Linked DNA regions of Homo sapiens: regions 2, 3 and 4 are each linked to region 1. The links are contacts of gene promoters, found by promoter capture Hi-C in blood cells and fetal thymus (Javierre and others, 2016). All regions are on one chromosome and are shown on one strand. The core of a region is centred on a gene start or on the middle of the fragment in contact, and the rest is flanking DNA. Distances in the headings are between cores, read along the strand shown. Region 1 holds the start of TXK (TXK tyrosine kinase). Region 2 has its middle 28 kb from the start of CWH43. Region 3 overlaps OCIAD1 (OCIA domain containing 1). Region 4 has its middle 4.6 kb from the start of FRYL.

Evidence for each region. Contacts are between HindIII fragments. The CHiCAGO score rates a contact against its expected background, and 5 or more counts as called.
Region 2: a fragment that was not itself captured here is called in contact with the fragment with the promoter of TXK in region 1 in 1 of 17 cell types (erythroblasts); the score reaches 5.6 in erythroblasts.
Region 3: a contact is called between a fragment that was not itself captured here and the fragment with the promoter of TXK in region 1, in 1 of 17 cell types (non-activated CD4 T cells). The highest score is 7.2, in non-activated CD4 T cells.
Region 4: a contact is called between a fragment that was not itself captured here and the fragment with the promoter of TXK in region 1, in 2 of 17 cell types (non-activated CD4 T cells and activated CD4 T cells). The highest score is 6.9, in non-activated CD4 T cells.

What each region holds. Positions count from the first base shown.
Region 1 is chr4:48,132,888-48,135,630 of GRCh38, reverse strand. TXK (TXK tyrosine kinase) reads left to right here and starts at 1,381. Exons shown (of 15, transcript NM_003328.3): 1 at 1,381-1,476. The coding sequence starts at 1,461. RefSeq lists a silencer at 1,645-1,939. The HindIII fragment of the contact is 7,086 bases long and covers 1-2,743 here.
Region 2 is chr4:48,957,042-48,959,784 of GRCh38, reverse strand. No RefSeq gene overlaps it. Among named protein-coding and RNA genes, the nearest start is that of CWH43, 28 kb to the left of the region's middle. The HindIII fragment of the contact is 324 bases long and covers 1,251-1,574 here.
Region 3 is chr4:48,838,911-48,841,653 of GRCh38, reverse strand. All of the region lies in intron 3 of OCIAD1 (OCIA domain containing 1), which reads right to left. Among named protein-coding and RNA genes, the nearest start is that of OCIAD1, 9.2 kb to the right of the region's middle. The HindIII fragment of the contact is 3,511 bases long and covers 1-2,743 here.
Region 4 is chr4:48,783,529-48,786,271 of GRCh38, reverse strand. No RefSeq gene overlaps it. Among named protein-coding and RNA genes, the nearest start is that of FRYL, 4.6 kb to the right of the region's middle. The HindIII fragment of the contact is 560 bases long and covers 1,100-1,659 here.

The DNA.
Region 1 (2,743 bases), core at 132-2,631:
TATCAAAAACTCATCACCTAGGTATGCATTAGCTATTTTTCCTGATATTAGCCTGATATATATATTTCCTGATATTAGCCTGGCATGCATTAGCTATTTTTCCTGATGCTCTCCCCTCATCTGCCCTCCCCAACAGGCCCCAGTATGTGTTGTTCCCCTCCCTGTGTCCATGTGTTTCATGGTTCAGTTCCCACTTATAAGTGAGAACATGTGGTGTTTGGTTTTCTGTTCCTGCATTACTTTGCTAAGGATAACGGCTTCCAGTTCCATCCATGTCCCTGCAAAGGACATGATTTCATTCTGTATAGCTGCATAATATTCCACGGTGTATATGTACCACATTTTCTTTATCCAGCCTATCATTGATGGGCATTTTGGTTGCTAACCATGCACAACTTTTAACTGACTTGTAGCTCATTGAAGGAGTCGGTCCTGGCACACTCTACCTTACTATCACTGTCAGCCTTTTCTCCTTCCTTCCTGACCTTCCCTCCTCCCATCCCATACTTCCCTTTTCACCTTGAGGAGCTACGGGAAGTACTAGGTGGTATGAAAGAGAGTGAGGAGAAGATAGAGTCCCTGTCCTAATGGTCAGTGTATGCTTTTTATGGGAAAACAAGATAGATAGCACCTGGCAACATTTGTCAACATTTCCTTCAAAAATCTTTAAATATTTTTCACTAAGACTTAGAAAAAAAGTTTTATACGAAAGCATAACAAAGGCAAAAGGTGAAGTAAAAATAACAGTCATCACCCAGAATGCTAAGGAGACCTTAATCTAAACCAGGAAATTGGAAGGGCGATTAGAATATGCTGTGTCTTCATTAAAGTTGCTCTGTTAATTAGTTGACACATGGTTATGCTTTCCAGTGGGATGAAGTGAAACTCCCAAGTGTGTTTTGTATTGTTGGTGTTTTTATATTTCTCAGCCATCCCCCAATCACATTTTAGGGTTATTACTAGATTGACTTCCCCCAAATAAAGTGTCTGCTGAGTGGGAGGATGGAACATTCTAAACTCAATATTCCAGAGCCTAGAATCTAATTGTTTCTGCCACTCACGGTGTGGCCTTGGGCAAGTCCCTTATTCTGTCTGTGCCTTCATTTCCTTCCCAGTCCAGAGAGGGCAGTTTGATTTGATAATTTTAAAGGTGCCTTTTACCAAAATTTTGTGATTTCTTGAAAATGATGTTTGCGAGTCACCCACACCTTTGGGGATGAGAGACTAATAGCAGATACCCTCAGAGATTGGGATGGAGATTACTGAGCTTTCTTATATATGCCATTGGTTGTCATTTATACTCTTCTGAGGTTTTCAGAACAGGAAAATAGGTGGGGTTAACTCTGCCCGTGAGAAACATCTTGAGCGAACTATGATTTCAGTTGAAAGATGTGTTTTTGTGAGTAGAGCACCGCAGAAGAACTGAAGACTGTTGTGTGCTCCCCGCAGAAGGGGCTACCATGATCCTTTCCTCCTGTGAGTAAGATGGGCTTTGTCATTTATTTTTGGGGCTTGTTCTGGGGCCTGTTATTCTTGAACAGCAGAGGAAGTTTTTTTTTTCCAAGGCATAGAGCTTGGGGACATTAAAAGATAATTTCCTCAGATGTTGTGACAGAGTTTTGTTTCTTATTTAAAGAACCACAGTGATGATGTAATTCTAATAAAGGTTCAGCATTGAGAACATAAATGAAAGAAAAACAGAAAGAGTGTCCAGAAATCTGCATATGTGTGTGTAGAAATGCAATCAGTATGAAGTACTTGTTTTTAGAATGAGACTGTAATGAGCTCTGGGCTGAAGGCCAGGAGACCAAGTTCTAGTTCTGGATTTGCTCCAGCAGTGGTGGATCACAGTGGGCAACTTTATATATATATAAATACACACACATACACACACACACAAATAAATATCTATATTTAAGGCAAAAGGAAGAGAAGTCAAAACACAACTGTGTTTATACTCTGAAATTATCTGCTTTATCAAGTAAACATATAGACTTAACCTTTATTTTCACAGGGGTATTTATTCACAATTCTATGTAGACTTCCGTTATCGAGGACCTTTCCCAAGCAATTGAAATTTAGGCAAAACTGATTCTTATCTGCAGTCAGAGCCTGAGTAAAGGCCAAAATAAGAGTCAAAGTCACGAGTCTCTACCTGGTTAAAAGTGTGAACATGGTCAAGTGTGAACACTGGCTCAAATGTCTCTTTCCCTCATATATAATACTACATATGAAGATGTTATTTTAATATTTTTATAGAATATAAGACCATCATTAAAAATAAGTGCTTGTTTTAGGAGAACAGAGAAAGATTCCCTAGACACTGTTATCTGTGAAGATCCTTGGTTTGAAAGAGCTGTGGGGGATGCTTATAAATCCAAAGAAATTAGAATAAAAAAAAAAACCAAGCAGAATAGTCTTCTAAATAAGAAGGCAGCCGTCATATCAGAATTGCAATGTGTTTGTTTCTTTATAAAGGTATTTATTGAGCACCTACTATGGGCCATGGTCTATACCAGTTCCTTTATATTCATTATCTGAAATCTTCACTACAAACTGGCAAGGTGAAAATTGTTATTCTTATCTAGCCAATAAGAAAATTGTGCCTTTGAAAGTTTAAATCTTGCCAGAAACTCATATGGTTGTCAGACGCAGGATTTAAGTATGAGACTTTTTTTTTTTTTTTAGACAGAGTCTTGCTCTGTCACCCAGGCTGGAGTGCAGTGGCACGATCTCAGCTCAC
Region 2 (2,743 bases), core at 163-2,662, 820 kb before region 1:
TGATTCCTTCATGCTAAGACAACTGCATTCATTGTACAAGACTGGAGGAGAAAGAACTCAGCTTCACTCACTTTTCTCTTGTAGTGACTGACCAAGGCACCTGCCAGCTTTACAACTCCACATGGATTCTCACAAAGATGTCTTATTCCACTTGCCTCTCAGGTTATCCAGAGCCTCTACTTTTCTGGCTCTTAAATTCTTTGAAAGAATAGACTGAACTCACTTTCCTTACCACTGAATCATCCACTCTCTCTTCAGCCCTCAACCCTGCTTCTGCCCCTTCTACTCCTGGGAAGGTGATCTCAGTGAGGCCACCAACAACCTCCAGTCAGCCAAACTCACCTCTTCTAGGCCCTTCCCTTGGCATCCATGACCCTTCTCCCTCTGGCTCTCCTCCTACATCTCTGTCCTTTTCTTCCTTTGTCTCATTTGCTGATTCTTTTTCCTCTACCCATGCCTTCCCCTCCCTCCCCTCCTTTTCCCACCCCATTCTCTTCTCTCCTACACCTTTCCCTGGTCCTCTCATCCTTCCGGCCTCAGCTGTCCCTTAGAGGCTGATGATTCCCAACATTCTCTTATTCCAGTTGCTCTTCTATGTTTTTATCTTATATCTCCCCCTGTCCATTATACATCTCACTTTGGATGTCTCACTCAAAATGTCCAAAACATTGTCTTCTGCCCACTGACTGCATTTTCTTCCATCCTTTGTTTCAGCTAAGGGCATCGTCATTCACCAAGGCTGGCAATCCCAGCACCATCTTGCACCCCTTCCCTTCCCTTCCCTTCCCTCAAATCCATTTGGTCAATGAGTGGTGGTGACTCTTCCTCTAATATGTTTTCAGTCCTTATGCCTCTTCTTCTCCATTTCCACTGCCACTATCCTGGCTCAGTCTCCTATTCATCCATATTAGCTCTGAGCAATAGCGTTTCCTAACTTGCCCATCAGCCTACACTCATCACTCCCGCACCCACCCCTGCCTGCAAGTTCCATCCTATTACACTGATCTTCCTGAAAGACAGACTGATGACATCATTCCCCTACTTTAAGATCTTTGGTAGCTTCCTTAAATGACCTTCCATGTTCCCTAGAATGTCATCTTAAGGACTGCTATAGTCCATTCTGACTTGTGTTTCTAAGTTCACCTCTGGCCATAACACCCCCCTCCACTCCCTCACCTAGGCATCTGATACTTTATACCACATGTGAGCACTTTCGCCACACATCTGGACAAGGGAAAGAACATAAAGCTTGTTAGGCAGGCAACTTAGGAGTCAATATCTAATTCCACAACTTCTAGCTACGTGACTTTAGAACAATCTGTCTGTGCCTCCATTTCTTCATCTGCAAAATGGCTACAATGACATTTTTCTAACAAGGATGCTTATTCACTGAATAAATATTTACAGAGTATCTACTGCGTACCAAATAGGGTGTTTAGAACTCTTTAAATATTAGCTAATTTTCTCTATGTCTACTTCCTCCTCACCTTTGTCAATGTAATTCTTTCTTATCTGAGCAGAAGAAGCCCACTTCAAAGCCAAGTTCAAAAGTTATTTGTGACATTGGTGAAGCTTCTCCCAGCCCTCAAGTCAAGGCTCCACACACTCTCCTCAGTAGTTGGAACCAGTATCACGTAGTGTATTTTGTTACCTTTCTGATGTATCTGTTTCCTCCTATAGGCTCTTTGCAAGTAAAAGTAGTAAAAGTAAAAAAGTAACAGTAGTCTCTTATATATCTTTGCATCTTACACATCTAAATATGCACATAAATACACTGAAGAGGAAAAAAATACAGTGTTATCTATTGTTACCAAGACTTTCTGACCCAGCATGATTCTCTGGAAATTAATTATAAATATGTTTTGTGTTTAAGTGTCCCAGACATTTTCAAATTGCCTTTCATATTTTGCTAAATAACTTCCTGCCTTTGTTACAGGAAAGGGGTCCAGATCCAGACCCCAAGAGAGAGTTCTTGGATCTCATGCAAGAAAGAATTCAGGGTAAGTCCTCAGTGCAAAGTGAAAGCTAGTTTATAAGAAAGTAAAGGAATAAAAGAATGGCTACTCCATAGACAGAGCAACCCCAAGGGCAGCTGGTTGCCCATTTTTACGGTTATTTCTTGATGATACGCTAAACAAGGGGTGGATTATTCATGTCTCCCCTTTTGAGATCATATAGGGTAACTTCCTGACGTTGCTGTAGCATTTGTGAACTGTCATGGCGCTGGTGGGAGTGTAGCAGTGAGGATGACCAGAAGTCACCCTCGTCACCATTTTGGTTTTGGTGGGTTTTGGCTGTCTCCTTTACTGCAAGCTGTTTTATCAGGTTTTATGTTTTGTGCTGTTTTATCAGGTTTTGTATTTTGTGCTGACCTCCTATCTCATCCTGTGACTTAGAATGCCTTAACCACCTGGGAATGCAGCCCAGTAGGTTTCAGCCTCATCTTACCCAGCTCCTATTTAAGACAGAGTTGCTCTGGTTCACATGCCTCTGACACCTTGATAACAATAAAACCTTATTAATTTGACTTTTCTTCTAGAGAAGATAGGCTTTAAATTCACTGTGTTCGTATTTTTGAATATCTGTGTCAGAAAACAGTTGGTGATTTAGTTAGCTAGAAAATAGCCTTTATTTACGTTCGTGTATTATTTTGAATAGTTTTACATTAATGATGTTTAATTATACTTGTTTCTGCCACTATTACACACATTTCTGTTTCTGTTACTTTTTTTTCTGTCTCTCC
Region 3 (2,743 bases), core at 139-2,638, 710 kb before region 1:
ATGCGTAATTGGCTCACTGTGCCCAAACTGTTTGTACAAATACAGTTCATGCCAAACATCTGCTTTCATTCTAGGAGTCTGGAATTTTGGTACCTGTTAGGCAGAGGGTGAATAAGTGACCAGCCCCCAATAAAAACTGTGGGCACTGAGTCTCTAATGAGTTCCCCGGGTAGATACAACTTCACACATTGTTATGACTAGCTGTTGGAGAAATTTACACTCCCTGGGAAGAGAACTCTTGGGACCTGGTTTCCGCCGGACTTCACCCCATGCTCCCTTTCCTTTTATGATTTTGCTTTATATCCTTTCACTGCAAGTTATTTTAAAGTTAAATTGCTACATGTGACTACTGGCTGCCACACTGGACAGTGCTGTTCCAGACCTGAGGTTGGCAAACACGTTCTATGAAGAGCCAGATGGTAAATATTTTGGGTTTTGTGGGCCAATCTCTGTCCCAGTTACTCAATTGCCGTTTTAAAGCAAAAGCACCGAAAGACAATCCAAAAACACATGAACGTAGCTGTGTTCCAACAAAACTTTATTTTTAGATGCAAACATATGAATTTCATGTAATTTCACACGTAATGAAATATTCTTTTCCTTTGATTTCTTAACCATTTTATCTTATTTTATGTTTTTAGACAAAGTCTCACTCTATCACCAAGGCTGGAATGCAGTGGTACAATCTCATCTCACTGCAGCCTCAACCTGCCGGCTCAGATGATCCTCCTGCTTCAGCCTCCCAAGTGGTTGGGACTACAGGCATGCACCGCCATGCCTGGCTAATTTTTTGTCTTTTTTCTTTTTTTTTTTTTTTTTTGTAGAGATGAGGTTTCGCCAAGTTGCCCAGGCTGGTCTCGATCTCCTTGGTTCAAGTAATCAGCCCACCTCAGCCTCCCAAAGTGCTGGGATTACAGGCGTGAGCCACTGCACCCAGCCTCTTAACCATTTAAAAATGTAAAAACAATTCTTAGCTCATGCATACAAAAACAGATTTGGTCCATGGGCTAGTTTGTTCAACTCTGGTCTAAACCATATATGGACAATTTAAGAACCAAAGTAATTAAGACATTTGAATTATTACAGATTTCATGATTAAAATCCATCACTTTGGAATAGGGCATTAACTTTGCCATCACACACAAATTGCACAAACGCTAAGGTCTGAATTCATGCTATCCTACTTACTAACAGATTTTACCTTTGCTGGAAATATGGTTTCTTTAATGTTGGCTAGTTAGAATGCCTTCATGCATTATCATTTATCATTTAAGGTTTTGCAAAGGACAAATCCCTTTTAATTACAGCACCAGTACAATTTGCAATCATTTTTCTCCAGCTTGACTCAAGGATTGCAACATGAAGCACTGAAGAATCATATAAGAATAAAAGGCAATGAGTTAGCTGGCCATTTCTACAATGGATAATGCTTTCCCCATTTAATGCAGAGTAATAGTCTGTTCGAGGAGATTCTAGTACTAGTTCTGCCATTCACCACAATGTCTTTGCATAGCTTCTTCTCATGCTATAAAGGAATAATGGATTAGACCTAAGGTCTCATTCCAACTCAGGTATTCTACTTTATGTCACAGAAAAAGACAATGGTAAGACTGAAAGAGGCTTCAGAGATTATCTAGTCCTCATTCCAATCTGAGTACACTAATATCCAGAAAAGACAAGTCATTTGCTCAAAGCAACACAGCTGGTTAGTTTGTGGTAATGCTGAGATCAGAACCCAAGTCTCCTGACTCCCTAGTCAGTGGCCTTTTCCACTACAGTATGTAATATCTATTTTGTTAAATAATCTGTCTCTATAGGCAAATCAGTAATACTGCTGACCAAAACCTAGTGCACATTATTACCACAGTCCCAAACTATATTCAATATATACAAGAATCCCTACAATTATTTGAACTCTTCTCCCCTCACAGTAACAAAAAGCTACTCTATATTCCTAACTGTAGTCAATAAAAATTTTTATTTCATTAATCATAATAACACTAATAGCTATTTAATAAAGATAGCCAACACTTAATTAAATTGCATTAATCCCTATAATAATTTCATGAGCTAGGCAGTTATCCCCATTTTATAGATAAGAAAAGTATAGCACAGACCTCAGGAACTTGTCCAAAATCTCACAGCTACTGTGTGTGGAGCTGGGATTTGAATCCAGCCAATCAGGCCTCAGAGTCCATACTCTTTTTTTTTTTTTTTTGAGATGAAGTCTCGCTTTGTCACCCAGGCTGGAGTGCAATGTCACAATCCTGACTCAATGCAACCTCTGCCTCCCGAGTTCAAGCCATTCTCCTGCCTCAGCCTCCCAAGAAGCTGGGACTACAGGCATGTGCCACCACACCTGGCTAATTTTTGTATTTTTAGTAGAGACAGGGTTTCACCATGTTAGCCAGGCTGGTCTTGAACTCTTGACCTCAAGTGATCCACCCACCTCGGCCTCTCAAAATGCTGGGATTACAGGTGTGAGCCACCATGCCTGGCCCATACTCTTATCACTCTTATACTGTATCATTTGAAAACTAGTAGTACACATATATGAAATATTATTCATAGACTCCAGCTGATACAAATATGAACTGATACATCTTTTTAGTAATTCTGGAGTTTGAGAACTATTTTAACATGAATATGCAATAAACTGACCCTATATGCACAGGGTCTTCACTACCTGTGTGTTTGGGCACAGACATAGTGATTTTAGGTCAGTGCATAGGGTCACGATTTT
Region 4 (2,743 bases), core at 130-2,629, 650 kb before region 1:
AACTCCTAACCTCAAATGATCCACCTGCTTCAGCCTCTCAAAATACTGGGATTACAGGCATGAGCCAACACACCTGGCCAGGAATATTCTAATTTCTAAACCATCCTTTAAAGTAGATGCAAAGAGGCTGGCTCATGCCTGCAATCCCAGTGTTTTGGGAGACCGAGGTGGGTGGATCACTTGAGGTCAGGAGTTTGAGACCAGCCTGACCAACATGGTGAAACCCCGCCTCTACTAAAAATACCAAAATTAGCCGGGCATGGTGGTGCAACCCTGTAGTCCCAGCTTCTCAAGATGCTGAGGCAGGAGAATCTCTTGAACCCGGGAACCAGAGGTTGCGGTGAGCCGAGATCTCACCACTGCATTTCAGCCTGGGCGACAGAGCAAGACTCTGTCTCAAAAAAAAAAAAAAAAAAAAAAAAAGTTGCAAAGAAGCACCTGATCAAGTACCGGTAAAGTGCAAAGAGTATTCTAGACACAACTAGAGGTCTGTGCAAGTTTTCATAATGTTAAGTTTATTTAATTCAATAACTTTCATTCTGATGTTACAATCTTCCCCATTTTAATTTTTTAATTTTTTTTAGAGACAGGGTCTTCCTCTGTTGCCCAGGCTGGAGTACAGTGGTTTGATCTCTGCTTAGTGTAGCCTCAACCTCTGGGCTCAAGCAATTCTCCCACTCAGCCTTCCAAGTTTTTTTTTTGCCTTAAGACAAGGTTGCACTCTGCCACCCAGGCTAGAGTGCAATGGTTCAATGATAGTTCACTGTAACCTTGAACTCCTAGGCTTAAGCAATCTTCCTGCCCTGGCCTCCTGAGTAACTGGGACTACAGTCATGCACCACCACACCAAGCTAATTTTTTGATTATTGTTTTTTTGCAGAGATAGGGTCTTGCTATTTTGCCCAGGCTGATCTTGAACTCCTGGCTAAAGTGATCTGCCTGTCCTTGGCCTTCCAAAGTGTTGGGATTACAAGCATGAGCCCCCACACCTGGTCTGGCTTTAAAATATTCTTATTTTATGAAATAATGAGAATAGATAGAAGTTTTATTTATATTTATTTTTGTACCTTACACGGAAAAATTAAAAAGTTGATAAGCTTATGTCAGTTCCTAAAAATTCCTTGGAAATTTTACCAGTTCATGAAATAAAAAAGTCTGAGAACCAGTGATCTTTTACTAATTGATAAGATAGATTTGCAATAAAATATCAAGTAATTAGAATGCTCCTAGAATGGTCTTGTGGTTAATTAGATTTTCACATTGTAGGTTAACTTTTTGGTTTCAGCTGTGCTCATTCAGCTCAATTTGACATGCTGTACTGAAAGCCTCACTTATGCCAGTCATCATACTAAATGATGCCCATGCGATGATACATAATCCTGGCTTTGCTCTGTGAGAACAAACCAGACTAGTACAAGAGACAGGAAAAGAAACATTTAAGTTCTGTATTCAAAGTGATACCTATAACAAAATAGTATATATGTAGTAGAAAAGTAGCACAAAGAATAATTAAGTCAAGGAAGGGAGTGCAACTAGAGAAGACTGCATAAAGAGGGCAATGCTTCTATTGGGCCATCAGTTTGATGGATGGATTGAAGTGTCCTTCAGATGAGCAAAGAGGGGAAAGCTATTCTACACAAAGGGAATGGCATTGAAGCTTGAAAGAACATGATAGTTGATATTGAGAGAGCAGACACTTCCAGTGTCAAACGAGGGAGTGGTCAGGGAAGAAATTTGAGAAGAAGCCTATAGTCAGATTATAAAGAGACTTGTACGTTTTGCTGCGGTGTTTATATTCAGAATGTGCCTAGAGAAATCTCTAAAGGGTTTTAAGCAAGAGATAATTGGAAAGCTTTCTAAAAATGTATTAATATCCACATTCTACCCAGTAGGTGAAATATACTGAACACAATTGAATTTTTTACTGATAATTGCAGACCTTTCAGTGACATACTCAATGAATATCAGTTCTTATTTTACAAAGCAACACATTTAACTTTAGAGAGTGAAGGACTTGGACCTCCTCTGGGAGACCTAGGAGACTGTGGAACTATTTCCTGGAATTTTTTCATTAAATCAAACTACTGTGACTTATTTTCTTTTAACTTATTCTCATCAATATTAATGGGACAGGGGAAATGATTTTGGTTGACAGCTTCCATTAGTTGGATTTTTTTTTTGAAAAAAAAAAAAAAAAAAGACAGGATCTTGCTATGTTGCCCAGGCTGGCCTTGAACTTCTGGGCTCAAAGCAATCTTCCCATCTCAGCCTCCCCACTAGCTGAGATTACAGGTGTGCACCATCACACCATGCTCTGGATTTTTAAAAATTTTACTATAGAAAAATCTCTGGTGAATACATAGTCTCCACGCAAGAGCTTTGAAGGAAATAAAGGGTAAAAACTGTGCCCCTTATAGGTGGAGATTCATGACATACTCTCTGGAGAATGGATACATATTCATCATTTTCTCCCTATTCTTTTTTTTTTTTAGACGGAGTTTCACTCTTGTTGCATAGGCTGGAGTGCAATGGCAACATCTCAGCTCACCGCACCTCCGCCTTCCAGGTTCAAGCGATTCTCCTGCCTCAGCCTCCTGAGTAGCTGGGATTACAGGCACGCGCCACCCCGCCCAGCTAATTTTGTATTTTTAGTAGAGACGGGGTTTCACCATGTTGGTCAGCCTGGTCTCGAACTCCTGAGCTCAAGTGATTTACCTGCCTCGGCCTCCCAGTGCTGGGAATA